Regions from separate parts of the Homo sapiens genome. Here region 1 is linked to region 2. Evidence: promoter capture Hi-C in 16 types of primary human blood cells and fetal thymus (Javierre and others, 2016). All regions are on one chromosome and are shown on one strand. Each heading gives the region's core, a stretch centred on a gene start or on the middle of the fragment in contact. The rest is flanking DNA. Distances are from core to core; before and after follow the strand shown.

The links. Contacts are between HindIII fragments. The CHiCAGO score rates a contact against its expected background, and 5 or more counts as called.
Region 1: a contact is called between the fragment with the promoter of LGALS16 here and the fragment with the promoter of TIMM50 in region 2, in 2 of 17 cell types (non-activated CD4 T cells and naive CD4 T cells). The highest score is 9.3, in non-activated CD4 T cells.

What each region holds. Positions count from the first base shown.
Region 1 is chr19:39,652,740-39,660,046 of GRCh38, forward strand. It overlaps LGALS16 (galectin 16), which reads left to right and starts at 3,174. Exons shown (of 4, transcript NM_001190441.3): 1 at 3,174-3,237; 2 at 5,144-5,220; 3 at 5,721-5,931. The coding sequence starts at 3,223. The HindIII fragment of the contact is 3,782 bases long and covers 3,088-6,869 here.
Region 2 is chr19:39,478,333-39,485,219 of GRCh38, forward strand. It overlaps TIMM50 (translocase of inner mitochondrial membrane 50), which reads left to right and starts at 2,506. Exons shown (of 11, transcript NM_001001563.5): 1 at 2,506-2,629; 2 at 3,551-3,701; 3 at 4,553-4,584; 4 at 4,803-4,824. The coding sequence starts at 2,522. LOC124904718 (a long non-coding RNA gene) reads left to right here and starts at 4,832. Exons shown (of 2, transcript XR_007067257.1): 1 at 4,832-6,458. RefSeq lists enhancers at 2,194-2,788, 2,909-2,958. The HindIII fragment of the contact is 24,447 bases long and covers 1-6,887 here.

The DNA.
Region 1 (7,307 bases), core at 1,924-4,423, 180 kb after region 2:
GAATTCTACCAGAGGTAAAAAGAGGAGCTGGTACCATTCCTTCTGAAACTATTCCAATCAATAGAAAAAGAGGGAATCCTCCCTAACTCGTTTTATGAGGCCAGCATCATCCAAATACCAAAGCCTGGCAGAGACACAACAAAAAAAGAGAATTTTAGAGCAATATCCCTGATGAACATTGATGCAAAAATCCTCAATAAAATATTGGCAAACCAAATCTGGCAGCACATCAAAAATCTTATCCACCACGATGAAGTCAGCTTCATACATGGGGTGCAAGTCTTGTTCAACATACTCAAATCAATAAACAAAATCCATCACATAAACAGAACCAGTGACAAAAACTACATGATTATCTCAATAGATGCAGAAAAGGCCTTTGACAAAATTCAACAGCCCTTCATGCTGAAAACTCTCAATAAACTAGGTATTGATGGAATGTATCTCAAAATAATGAGAGCTATTTATGACAAACCGACAGCCAATATCATACTGAATTGGCAAAAGCTGAAAGTATTCCCTTTGAAAACTGACACAAGACAGGGATGCCCTCTCTCACCACTCCTATTCAACATGGTGTTGGAAGTTCTGGCCAGGGCAATCAGGCAAGAGAAAGCAATAAAGGGTATTCAATTAGGAAAAGAGGAAGTCAAATTGTCCCTGTTTGCAGATGACATGATTGTATACTTAGAAAACCCCATCATCTCAGCCCAAAATCTCCGTAAGCTGATGTGACTTCAGCAAAGTCTCAGGATACAAAATCAATGTGCAAAAGTCACAAGCATTCCCATACACCAATAACAGACAAACAGAGAGCCAAATCATGAGCGAACTCCCATTCACAATTGCTTCAAAGAGAATAAAAAACCTAGGAATCAAACTTACAAGGGATGTGAGGGACCCTTTCAAGGAGAACTACAAACCATTGCTCAATGAAATAAAAGAGGATACAAACAAATGGAAGAACATTCCATGATCACGGATAGGAAGAATCAATATCGTGAAAATGGCCATACTTCCCAAGGTAATTTATAGATTCAACGCCATTCCCAACAAGCTACCAATGACCTTCTTCACAGAATTGGATGCTACCTGACTTCAAAGTACACCACAAGGCTACAGTAACCAAAACAGCATGATACTGGTACCAAAACAGATATATAGACCAATGGAACAGAATGGAGCCCTCAGAAATAACACCACACATCTATAACCATCTGATCTTTGATAAACCTGACAAAAACAAGAAATGAGGAAAGGATTCCCTATTTAATAAATGGTGCTGGGAAAACTGGCTAGCCATATGTAGAAAGCTGAAATTGGACCCCTTCCTTACACCTTATACAAAAATTAATTCAAGATGGATTAAAGACTTAAATGTTAGACCTAAAACCATGAAAACCCTAGAAGAAAACCTAGGCAATATCATTTAGGATGTAGGCATAGGCAAGGACTTCATGACTAAAACACCAAAAGCAATGGCAACAAAAGCCAAAATTGACAAATGGATCTAATTAAACTAAAGAGCTTCTGCACAGCAAAAGAAACTACCGTCAGAGTGAATAGGCAACCTACAGTATGGGAGAAAATTTTTGCAATCTACCCATTTGACAAAGGGCTAATATCCAGAATCTACAAAGAACTTAAACAAATTTACAAGAAAAAAACAAACAACCCCATCAAAAAGTGGGCAAAGGATATGAACAGACACTTCTCAAAAGAAGACATTTATGCAGCCAACAAACACAGGAAAAAATGCTTATCATCACTGGTCATTAGAGAAATGCAAATCAAAACTACATTGAGATACCATCTCACACCAGTTAGAATGGCGATCATTAAAAAGTCAGGAAACAACAGATGCTGGGGAGGATATGGAGAAATAGGAACGCTTTTACACTGTTGGTGGGAGTGTAAACGAGCTCAACCATTATGGAAGACAGTGTGGCCATTCCTCCAGGATCTAGAACTAGAAATATCATTTGACCCAGCATCCCATTACTGGGTATATACCCAAAGGATTATAAATCATGCTACTATAAAGACACATGCACACGTATGTTTATTGCAGCACTGTTCACAATAGCAAAGACTTGGAACCAAACCAAATCCTTCAATGATAGACTGAATTAAGAAAATGTGGCACATATACACCATGGAATTCTATGCAGCCATAAAAAAGGATGAGTTCATGTCCTTTGCAGGGAGATGGATGAAGCTGGAAACCATCATTCTGAACAAACTATCACTAGCACAGAAAACCAAATACCGCATGTTCTCACTCATAGGTGGGAATTGTACAATGAGAGCACTTGGACACATGGCAGGGAACATCACACATGGGGGACTATCATGGGGTGGGGGGCAGGGGGATGGATAGCATCAGGATAAATAATGTAAATGACGAGTTAATGGGTGCAGCAAACAAACATGGCACATGTATACCTGTGTAACAAACCTGCACATTGTGCACATGTACCCTGGAACTTAAAGTATAATAATAATTTTTTTTAAATCTCACCTTTCTCCCAGAATCTGCAGAAGAAACAGTCTCCCTCAAACTTTGATTTACATGGACACCAACAGAGGGTGTAGCTAGAGCCCAAGTGTGTGACAGTCAGATGAAAGTGGCCCTTACCTAGCAAAGCCAAGTGGCTTAGTGTGGGGCAGGTTCATGCAAGAAATTTCTCTACTTCTCTCTGCAGATCCTCCTCAGGATCAAGGTCAGTGCTCTCCCAGAACATTTAAAGGCAGAGAGAAGAATTACCTTTTAGGGCTAACTTGTTTCCCCCAAAATCTCCAACTTTTTTTTTCTTGTTTAGCCATTGTACAAAATTGGGAAAATGTACACCTTCTGGGTAGATTCTGCATAGTGGAGAAAAGGCTTGAGAGGCACAAAGGCTGGGCTTTACAATCACTACCCCTCACTCCATCATCCTTATCTATGCATTTCCCTGGTAACCCAATCCACAGTCTGGTACCTTCCCCAATGTCATTTCTGCTGCATTACAGACACAGACTTGCAAATAGTTATGGTTGTGACTGAGTTTCTTCGTGACACCTGACCCTTTCTCATGCTGCAAGGAAAGCTTGCTGGGAGGAGCATGGAATCTGGAATGATGCCAGAGGGCAAAGCTGAAAGGGGTCATTTAAGTGCTGCAACTCAGAGATTCACTCAGAAGACTGGACACAATTCCGAAGGTCGCCCAGAAGGAGAGGACAATGTCATTTCTAACTGTGAGTTGAAAAGGCACAGCCTTCAATAATCTCAAGTCACACAAAACCAAGAAAGATGTGGGGTATTTTATGAGATGAAAATATGAGCATTCCTACTGTGAATGCTTTACTGAGAGTTGTGGGTGTGTGGAAGAGAAACACTGAGGCTGGGTATCTGAGATGCTTGTAGCATGTGGGTTGTGGATCCTGGACAAATGTAACCCTCTGTGAGCATGAGGTGGTATCTGATGAGAGTGAACTCTGATGAGATGATGTGACTTTAGGTGGGAGGTGGATGGCACACCAGGTCAAGCAGGTGTTTGTGTGAGTGTAAGGGGGGTGATTGTACTTTGTCTTCCTCTTTGTGATGTGAGTGTGTGTTAGCACAGCCAGACCAGTGCATGGTCATCTTTATGTGCGCAGTGAGCAGGTGTGTGTAACTCAGTGAGTGGCATGGCTCTGTGTGACTGTGGGTGTGTGTGCTGGGATGTGACTGAGTATTGAAGGGAAAACACGCATGTGGCCTTCTGTGCATGTGAAGGTTCCTCCCCACACAACAGCACTTCTGATGAAGGAACTGTGTGTCTTTTCATGTGTGGCAATGTGGATCCCAGGTGGCTTAACTGGTAGGGATCTTGGAGATTGTGAGTTACCAAGGACTTGTTTCAGATCACTTATGAGAGCAGAATGTATGATCAGTAGATGTCTCTTCCCAGTAAGAGTGGGGAAGAGGAATGGAGACTATGGGGGTGATGGATCCTCAGGTGGGGTCTGCACAGAGTGACCACTGTCTCTTGCCTCCCAGGCTCAGCTTCCCTGTCCCCAGCCTATCCTGTCCTTTTCATTGTGGGACAGGAGGTTTGCTAGAGAAGGATATTAGAGGCCATGGTTTCAGAGACTGAATCACGTAAAATATCCACTGTAAGCTATGTCTCAACTGAGTCTAAACTTGTTCCTCCACCCATGAAGGAACAAGTCTAGTCTCAGTTCAGACAGAGCTTACAGTGGATATTAATCAACAAAGCAGCTGGGTTCACTGGCTCACGGCTATAATCCCACCAATCTGAGAGACAAAGATGAGAGGATAACTTGAGGCCAGAAGTTTGAGGCCAGTCTGGGTATCATAGTGAGACCCTTTCTTTAAAAAACTTTAAATATCAGACTGCCAGAGTGGCAGGCACCTTTTGCCCCAGCTACACAAGAGGGGGCAGATGTGTGAGGATCACTGCAGCCCAGGAGTTCAACGTTTCAATGAGCTATGATCGCACCACTGCATGTCAGCCTGGGCAACAGAGCAAGACCCTATCTCAAAAATACAGAAAAATCATCAACCACTTGTAGTCATTGTAGAAATCAATCATTCCCTCCAGTTATGTCCCTGACCCACAGGCTTCACTTGTGCAAGTACTGGGGCTGTGCTGTCAGTAATGTGTGCCACTTCTTGGAAGGACGTCCATTGCCCTTGATGATTGTGAGAGTTGAAAATAAGGCAGATCAGTGTTTCAGGAGGACTCCCCTGTTCTGTTAGGTCACCCCTAACAGGCCCTACACATGCCAGGGATTAGGGTAAAAGTTTTACATGTATTAACTGCTCTATTATGGAGAACTTCCTACACAGTAGGAATTCATGATAATCCTCCTTGTTTTAGGGAAACTGAGGAAGTCAAGTAACCGATCTAAGATTGCACTGCTAGTAAGAGGCAGAATGAGGACTGGAATCCAGGCTTCTTGGCTCCTGAACCCTTGCTCTTACCTATGGGTCCACCATACCTTCAGGAATGTGGGGCCCTGACTGTGGTAGAGTGAATGGGGAGAGTCCACAGAGCCTGCCCTGTGATCTCTAACCTCCTGCACCATGGGAATATGTTACAGGAAGGGAGACTGCACCTGACCCTGCACCTCTCACTTATTCTCAATACCCTGGCAGGTGCCATACAAACTGCCTGTGTCTTTGTCTGTTGGTTCCTGCGTGATAATCAAAGGGACACTGATCGACTCTTCTATGTGAGTACTCCATGGTCCAATGGAGGGGGTGGAGGAGAAAGGAGAATATTTGCTAAGAGTTTGACCTTATGTGTGGGTGATGTGGAAATGTCTAATTGGCAGGATGGAGGCCCCATGCAGGTGCAGGTCCTGGAGACCCTCCAGCACCAGGCATGAGACCTGCAGCAACTGCATGTGGGCCAGCCATGGGGCCTAGGGGAGGAGAATACTCAGTGGGTTGGGACTGTGGCTCTTTATCAAGGGGCATAGAATTTTCAGGGAATGAACAAGTCACAGGCCCAGGTCAGTGACTGTGATTCAGTTTTCATCTGGGGATGAGGGGCACAGCATCTCCCTGCAGGGGGCACGAGGAGCTGAAGCATCCCCACAGGGACCAGGCCTGCAGTATCATCAGAGAGAATTTTACCCTGGGTAAATGGGGGAAGGGATTTGTGTGCGTGTCAAGTGTGTGTCTGTGCAATGAAGGAACCTGTCCAATATGCTGTGTGCTTTGCCCTCAGCAACGAACCACAGCTGCAGGTGGATTTCTACACTGAGATGAATGAGGACTCAGAAATTGCCTTCCATTTGCGAGTGCACTTAGGCCGTCGTGTGGTCATGAACAGTCGTGAGTTTGGGATATGGATGTTGGAGGAGAATTTACACTATGTGCCCTTTGAGGATGGCAAACCATTTGACTTGCGCATCTACGTGTGTCACAATGAGTATGAGGTGAGCACCCCAGGAGCTCGCAGTACCCAGGCTCTTTGGGATCCCAGAGCAGGAGTCAGCTCTCATTGACCTGGCCTCACCAGTCCCTCAGGGCCCATCTCCCGTAACTACCCCTGCCCCAGGTTTTCATCACAGAGCACCCTCTGCTTGCACTGCCGTCCTCAGCTCTTTCCCAAATCTGACCAAGGTCAAGGTCGGCTCATCTTCCATTTCCCCCAAAGTGGAGAATCTCCTCTGTCTTTTCACATAGTGCTCATTTCTACTTATGCCATTATTTAAATTTTCATGTAGCTGAATGAATACAATATACTTAAGAAGAAAGTTTTTTCTATCAATCAAAAATTATGTCTTCGTCTCACTTTTGGGCCCCAATTCTACTCATACGAATAACATTACCAGAGCTCTGCTCTCCTTCAGAGAGAATCCTTTTTCTTTTTTTTTTTTTTTGAGACAGAGACTCACTTTGTCATCCAGGTTGGAGGGCAGTGACGTGATCTCAGCTCACTGCAACCTCCACCTCCCAGATTCAAGCGATTCTCTTGCCTTAGCCTCCCAAGTAGATGGGATTACAGGCTGATTTTTTTATTTTTAGTAGAGACGGGGTTTCACCATGTTGGCCAGGCTGGTCTTGAACTCCCAGCCTCAAGTTATCAACCCAATTCAGCCTTCCAATATAGTGGATTACACGCATATGCCACCGTGCCAACCCCTTCAGAGGAAATCTTTGCCTATGGAAGCATATAGATATGTCTATGATTTCATTTGTTTTTAAGTAAATCCTGGTATGTTGCTCTACACATTATGCTTTAGGAACTAAGTTGGTTTTTCATCAAAGAATATATCTTGAAGACATTATCAATCCATGTTTCTGCTTCAATTGTTTATTTGGGCATTGAAGTTGTTTCCAGTATTTTGCTCTCACAAATGATGCTGTATTAAGCTTTCAAATAAATCCTTTTGTCATTACCAACCTCCCAATACTTACATTGCGATATAATTACAAAAAATGAAAAAACTGGTTGAAAAATATGTGCATTTTAAATTTGAAAAATTAATACTAATAAGGTGACTCTCTATACAGCCTCAATATAAGGAATACATCCATACTTTCTTACTTTCTCTAACGAGTAGGCCAAAAGATTCACATCTTATTCAGATTCAAGTGAGGGATCTTTTCCTATGCTTAGAAGTTGTCGAAGATAATATCCTATGTTATACAAGACCTGTCCTCCTTTAACTCTCTAAGAACACTGGGTTTCATTCTTTGCCATTAACACCTCAGATGTAGGCTACTCCAAAGAGGAACTGTGCCATCAGTAGTGAAAGACAGTCACAGTTCATGGAACTGAAAAGTATGCATTTCAGTGAACATGGTC
Region 2 (6,887 bases), core at 1,256-3,755:
GCTACTTGGGAGGCTGAAGCAGGAGAATCGCTTGAACCTGGGAGGTGGAGGTTGCCGTGAGCCGAGATTGCACCAACTGCACTCCAGCCAGGGTGACAGAGCAAAACTCTGTCTCAAAAAACCAAAAAAAACCAACAACAACAACAAAAAAAAACACCAAAAAACATTTCAGACGTTCAAGATTATATACCAAGAACACCAATGTCCCCATCAGCCAGCTGAGGAAACAGGAAACAATATGTACTAGATAGGACCCACTTCAGCAGCACCCTAAATCCATTCCCCCAGAAGTAACCAGGAGGGCCGAGTTCCTTGTGTCTTTCCCTTTCTTGAATTTGTATTTTTACTACCTTGGTATTTGGTTTTAAAGTTTACATAAACAGGATCTGATTTTTCTTCCACTCAATTTAAGGGAGGTTCGTGGTGTCTTATCTATAGCCTCTAATTCGTTTCTCACTCAAGCCCTGTACAGCCAGATACTGCTGTTCTTTGGCTGAGCCTCAGGTAAAATGGTTGGCTCTCCAGTCCTTTATAGAAAATCATGGCAGGAAGGAATGGGAGAGAAAACAGATTCTGCCTCCCAGCTCCACGTGAGGAAGAGTTTTATTATTAATTTTTATTTTATTTTTTTTGAGACGGAGTCTCCCTCTGTCGCCCAGGCTGGAGTGCAGTGGCACAATCTAGGCTCACTGCAACCTCTGCCTCCTGGGTTCAAGCGATTCTTCTGCTCAGCCTCCCCAGTAGGTGGGACTACAGGCGCGTGCCATCATGCCTGGCTAATTTTTTTTTTTTTTTGTTATTTTTAGTAGAGACGTGGTTTCCCCATGTTGGCCAGGCTGGTCTCAAAACTCCTGACCTCAGGTGATCCGCCTGCCTCAGCCTCCCAAAGTGCTGGGATTACAGGCATGAGCCACTGCGCCCGGCCTATTATTATTAATTTTAAAAATAGAGATTGCAGTCTTGCTATGTTACCCAGTGTGGTCTCAAACTCCTGGCCTCAAGCGATCCTCCTGCCTCGGCCTCCCGAAGCACTGGGATTATAGGTGTCAGTCACAGCGCCTGGCCAGAAGAGTTTTCGAGGGCTGGCTTTTCAGGTCGTTTTCTGGGCCTCAATGTCTATTTCTGACAATGTGGGGAAAAGAAAGATCAGATTGTTACTGTGTCTGTGTAGAAAGAAGTAGACATAGGAGACTCCATTTTGTTCTGTACTAAGAAAAATTCTTCTGCCTTGAGATGCTGTTAATCTATAACCATACCCTGTTATAGATGACGGGGTTCTCTATAACCAACCCCGTGCTCTCTGAAACATGTGCTGTGTCAACTCAGGGTTAAATGGATTAAGGGCTGTGCAGGACGTGCTTTGTTAAACAGATGCTTGAAGGCAGCATGCTCCTTAAGAGTCATCACCACTCCCTAATCTCAAGTACCCAGTGACACAAACACTGCGGAAGACCGCAGGGACCTCTGCCTAGGAAAGCCAGGTATTGTCCAAGGTTTCTCCCCATGTGATAGTCTGAAATATGGCCTCATGGGAAGGGAAAGATCTGACCGTCCCCCAGCCCGACACCCGTAAAGGGTCTGTGCTGAGGAGGATTAGTAAAACAGGAAGGAACGCCTCTTCGCAGTTGAGACAAGAGGAAGGCATCTGTCTCCTGCCCGTCCCTGGGCAAGTCTTGGTATAAAACCCGATTGTATGTTCCATCTACTGAGATAGGGGAAAACTGCCTTAGGGCTGGAGGTGGAACATGCGGGCAACAATACTGCTCTGTAAGGCACTGAGATGTTTATATGTATGCATATCTAAAGTACAGCATTTAATTCTTTACCTTGTCTATGAACCGTTGTTCACGTGTTTATCTGCTGACCCTCTCTCCACTATTATCCTATGACCCTGACGCATCCCCCTCTCCAAGAAACACCCAAGAATGATCAGTAAATACTAAGGGAACTCAGAGGCTGGAGGGATCCTCCGTATGCTGAACGCTGGTCCCCTGGGCCCCCTTTATTTCTTTCTCTATACTTTGTTTCTGTGTCTTTTTCTCTTCCAAAGTCTCTCGTTCCACCTAACGAGAAACACCCACAGGTGTGGAGGGGCAACCCATCCCTTCAGACAATTGGGAGGTGAGGGCCGATTGCCTTACACGGTGAGACAAGCGGCCTGACTCGTGACTATTTTTTTGGACAAATCAGGCAGCCACTGACTCCCTTCATTATGGCCTCAGCTTTATCTCTGGGCAATAAGTGTGATCCCTTCCTTCGCTGCGTCCTTTGCAGGGGCGGTGGCGCTCTGCAAGGCCCAAGGGGGCGTGGTCCAGATGACTTTGAATCCCAGTTGTCGCCCCCAGGGTCAGCCAGGAGACTAGTCAGAAGCAAACGCGCCTGCGGCAATCCGCCCGATGCCTTTGGTCTCTCTCGGGCTTCCGTCCACCCGCCCCTCCCCCGCGTTTCCATTGGCTGTAGCTCCGGCCCGGGGCGGGCGAAGAGGGAGCGAGTGGGCGGGGCCGCGTGGCGTCAGCGCAAGATGGCGGCCTCGGCAGCGGTGTTCTCGCGCTTGCGAAGCGGGCTCCGGCTCGGCTCGCGGGGACTGTGCACGAGGTTGGCGACGCCGCCCCGCCGGGCCCCAGATCAGGTGAGCGGAACGAGGGTGGCCCTCTGAATGTGGGGTCCCTTCCCTGGAGTTACGGACATATCGCCGCCCCTTGGGGGTTCCGGGACGCCTCACCTCAGGGTGCTGAATGAAACGCCGCTTGTGTTTTGGGGCCCTTCCCAACCTCCTGGGTGGTTGCTCCCCTAGGCTGGAGGCTGGGAATCCAGGTGTGTCCTTAGACCCCACCTCCCACCCACGTGGGTGCCGGAGGAGGAGGGGGTTACCGTTCCCCGTTTCAGTGACCACTCAGGTGATACTTGAGCAGGAGGGGCCTGGGACGCTGGAGTCCCAGTCTGGCCGTGGGAGTTATTTTCTCTGTGGCGTTGGTGGTGGCGAGGTAGACGTTTGGGTTTCCAATTCGACTTGCCTCCATGTTGACAGAGACCCAGCCATTCTGACCTCCAAGTCTATCACTTCTGTGCCTTAGTTCCCCAAGCCCCAGACAAGTGATTGCCCTTCCCCGCCTCCGCTCCTATCCCTTACCCTATAACTCTGCTACTTTTAGCCCCAAGCAGCCGGACGTCGTAACTCCCGGTTCTGTCTGTACCCCTTCCCCCACCACTTGTGCCCTCCGTTCCCTCTCATCCCAGTGTTTAGGCCCTCCCATCCCTTATTCTCCGTGCTTTGCTTTTCTGGGCTGCAGACCCTCCAGTCCTGTTGCCTTCAGGATCCTGTGCACCTGGCCTGTTAGCTTTTAAAACTCCTGGCATCCTGGTGCGGGACAGTCTGGTTTTGACCCTCTGAGCAGCCCCACATCCTGACTGCTACTCCAGGGACACAGATGTCCAGGGCTCTGTGGGTGTCTGCCTCTTGGCTCCTGAACTTGATTCTTCTTGGACTGGAGGGTGGGGACCATCCTGACCTCTCTTCTCTCTTGGCTGACCTCCCCTTTCTCAACCGCAGGCCGCAGAGATCGGGAGCCGCGGGAGCACTAAGGCGCAAGGGCCACAGCAGCAGCCGGGCTCAGAGGGTCCCAGCTATGCCAAAAAAGTTGCGCTCTGGCTTGCTGGGCTGCTTGGAGCTGGTGGGACTGTGAGCGTCGTCTATATCTTTGGTGAGGGACATATCCCTGTCCCCCAGTTTTGTTCCTTGGCCTCCCTGGTCCACTGTGGAACCTCCCACTCTTGCCCACTACCAGCTTCTCTCGTCTTCATTCCCTGGCTCCTTCCTCAATAGGGCAGCCAAATAAGACACCTACCTTGAAAACCAGGGAAGTCTTCTTTCTTCTCCCTTCCACTCCTTAAGGTTCTAGTCTTTCTAGTTGGTTCCTGTACCAGGATAAAGGAAAGAGGGGAAGATGGGGAAGGATAGGCCTGGATCAGCTTCCTAAACTTTGTCTTTCCTCAGCAGCCAAAAATCCAGCCTTCCCACTAGTTACTTTAAATCCCACAGACCCGGCCGGGCACGGTGGCTCACGCCTGTAATCCCAGCACTTTGGGAGGCCGAGGCGGGCGGATCACGAGGTCAGGAGACGGAGACCATCCTGGCTAACACGGTGAAACCCCATCTCTACTAAAAATACAAAAAAAAATTAGCCCGGTGTGGTGGCGGGCGCCTGTAGTCTCAGCTACTCGGGAGGCTGAGGCAGGAGAATGGCGTGAACCCGGGAGGCGGAGCTTGCAGTGAGCCGAGATCGTGCCACTGCACTCCAGCCTGGGCAACAGAGCGAGACTCTGTCTCAAAAAAAAAAAAAAAAATCCCACAGACCCAAAAGACCTAGCCCCAGCCCCATTTCTCTCAAAGACCCAGGAATCTTGGCTCCCAGCCCCCTCCTGGCTTGACTCCAGGAGGCTGTGCCTCTCTCTTTCCTCAGATCCAGGAGTCCAGGCCCCTTATCCCACTCCTCCCTCGGGACCCAGGGGACTGGGCCCTAATTCCTCATATTCATCCTGGTCTCCCTTGCAGGAAACAACCCGGTGGACGAAAATGGTGCCAAGGTGAGGGGGAAAGAGACCGAGGCCTTGCCAGGAGTCCTAGTCTGTGGGTGAGAGGGGTCCCCTTTGGTCTGTTCAGGCACATTGCTGGTCTGGAGTGAGCCTTTCTTTCCCAGTGACCTTTGCCTGTTCCTCTTGGGGTCCTGGAGATTCCTTTTCTGTATGTGATGGGGTTCTGCCTCTGACATCCTAAACCTTCCATTTTTCTCTCTACCTCCCAGATTCCTGATGAGTTCGACAATGGTGAGTAAACAAGCACAGATTCTGGAGTCCCTGACCCTCTCAACTCTGTCATTTGTAAGGATGTCTCTCTCCCCATCTGGTGTCTCCGGCCCCTCCTCCTTCCACTGGGGAGGTGGGGGAGCCAGCAGCTGGATGGCTTTGTGGGGAGGGACATTACAAAGCCCAAGCCCACTTCCCTGGCCCCTCAGCCCCGAGCAGATGGTCAGAGACAGATGGGGGATTGGAGCCTTGGGTGGGAGGGCTTGGGGACACAGGGTGGCCTATCTCCAGACACATGGGTTCCTGTGCCTTAGACCAAGCATCTGCGGTTCCCAACTCCTTCCCCATCCCCCTCGAGCCCCTACCCCATTAGGCTCATTTTCAAAACTATGCCGCCTTCCTCTCTCCCCTTCTGGTTAACCAGCTTTTGGTGGTGAAGTAGATGACAAATTGGATAGTAGAGAGTAGCTGTCAATCCTGTCACACCTGGCTCTTCCTAGGAGAAAAATGAAATTGGTGGGTCCAGAAAGCCACCTGTTTATGCTGGGGGATGTTTGCAAACAGTCATGTTAATACATTGATTGTTTCAAACTGGGCAGTTGTAGAATCATGCTGGCTTCAACAAATCAGTATGCTGATTTAAATTGGGCAGGTACATCTGCAGTTTTAAAGTGTATATGTTTACTAGCCTAACTGGTTTCAATATTGTGGTTTATTTTTATTTTTATTTTTTTTTGAGACATAGTCTTGCTCTGTTGCCTAGGCTGGAGTGCAGTGATGCAATTTTGGCTCACTGCAACCTCCACCTCCTGGGTTCAAGCATTTCTCGTGCCTCAGCCTCCCGAGTAGCTGGGAGTACAGGCGCACACCACCACACTCAGCTAATTTTTATAGTTTTAGTAGAGACAGGGTTTCACCATGTTGGTCAGGCTGGTCTCGAACTCCTGACTTCAGGTGGTCACTCGCCTCAGCCTCCCAAAGTGCTGGGATTACAGGCTTGAGCCACCACTCCTGGCCCAATATATTGTGTTTTTTTTAAGAGGCAGGCCCATGTATTGCACTAAAAATACTGTATTAAAGTAGGTAGCCTTGTAAGTTTACTGTTTTATACTGGATTCATTAGCCGGGAGTGGTGGCCTGTGCCTGTGGTCCCAGCTACTCAGGAGGCTGAGGTGGGAGGATCACTTGAGCCTGGAAGTTACAGGCTGCAGTGAGCTGTGATCCCGCCACTGCACTCTAGCCTGGATGACAGAGTGAGTCTCCATCTCTAAAAAAAAATAAGTTAAAATGAGAAAGTAAACTGGAGTCAATATATTCACTTAAACCAGGGTTTTTCACCCTTGGCCCTATTGACGCTTTGGACCAGATAATTATAGAGGACTGCCCTGTGCATTGAAGGATTTTTGCAGCATCCTGGGCATCTGCCTACTAGATGCCAGTATTGCGATAACCGGTTATATCTCCCGGCATTGCCAGATTTCCCAGGGGTAGGCAGATAGACAAAATTGTTCCTAGTTCTGAACCACTGTTTTATGGTATATGGATGTGTTTATATATTTATTGTGGTTTAGATTCAGCACACTGGATTAAAGTGGGCAGATCTGGAAGCCTAGTGATTCAAAGTGGGCAAAATACAGTGGCATAAATTAGGTGTGGTGGCTCACGCCTGTAATCCCAACACTTTGGGAGGCCAAGGCGGGAGGATCACTTGAGCCCAGGAGTTCAAGACCAGCCCGGTCAACAGAGCAAGACCCTGTCTCTATTAAAAAAGTATGTATACCCTGGTGTAATGTCAGCAGATTTACATGTATGTGGGTTTTGTTTTGTTTTTTTTTTTTCTGAGACGGAGTCTTACTCTGTTGCCACGCTGGAGTGCAGTGGTGCAATCTCGGCTCGCTGCAACCTCCACCTCCCGGGTTCAAGTGATTCTCTTGCCTCAGCCTCCCAGGTAGCTGGGACTACAGGCACATGCCACCACGCCCGGCTAATTTTTTTTTTTTTTTACTGTTTTAGTAGAGACAGAGTTTCACCATGTTGGCCAGGATGGTCTTGATCTGACCTCGTGATCCGTCTGCCTCGGCCTC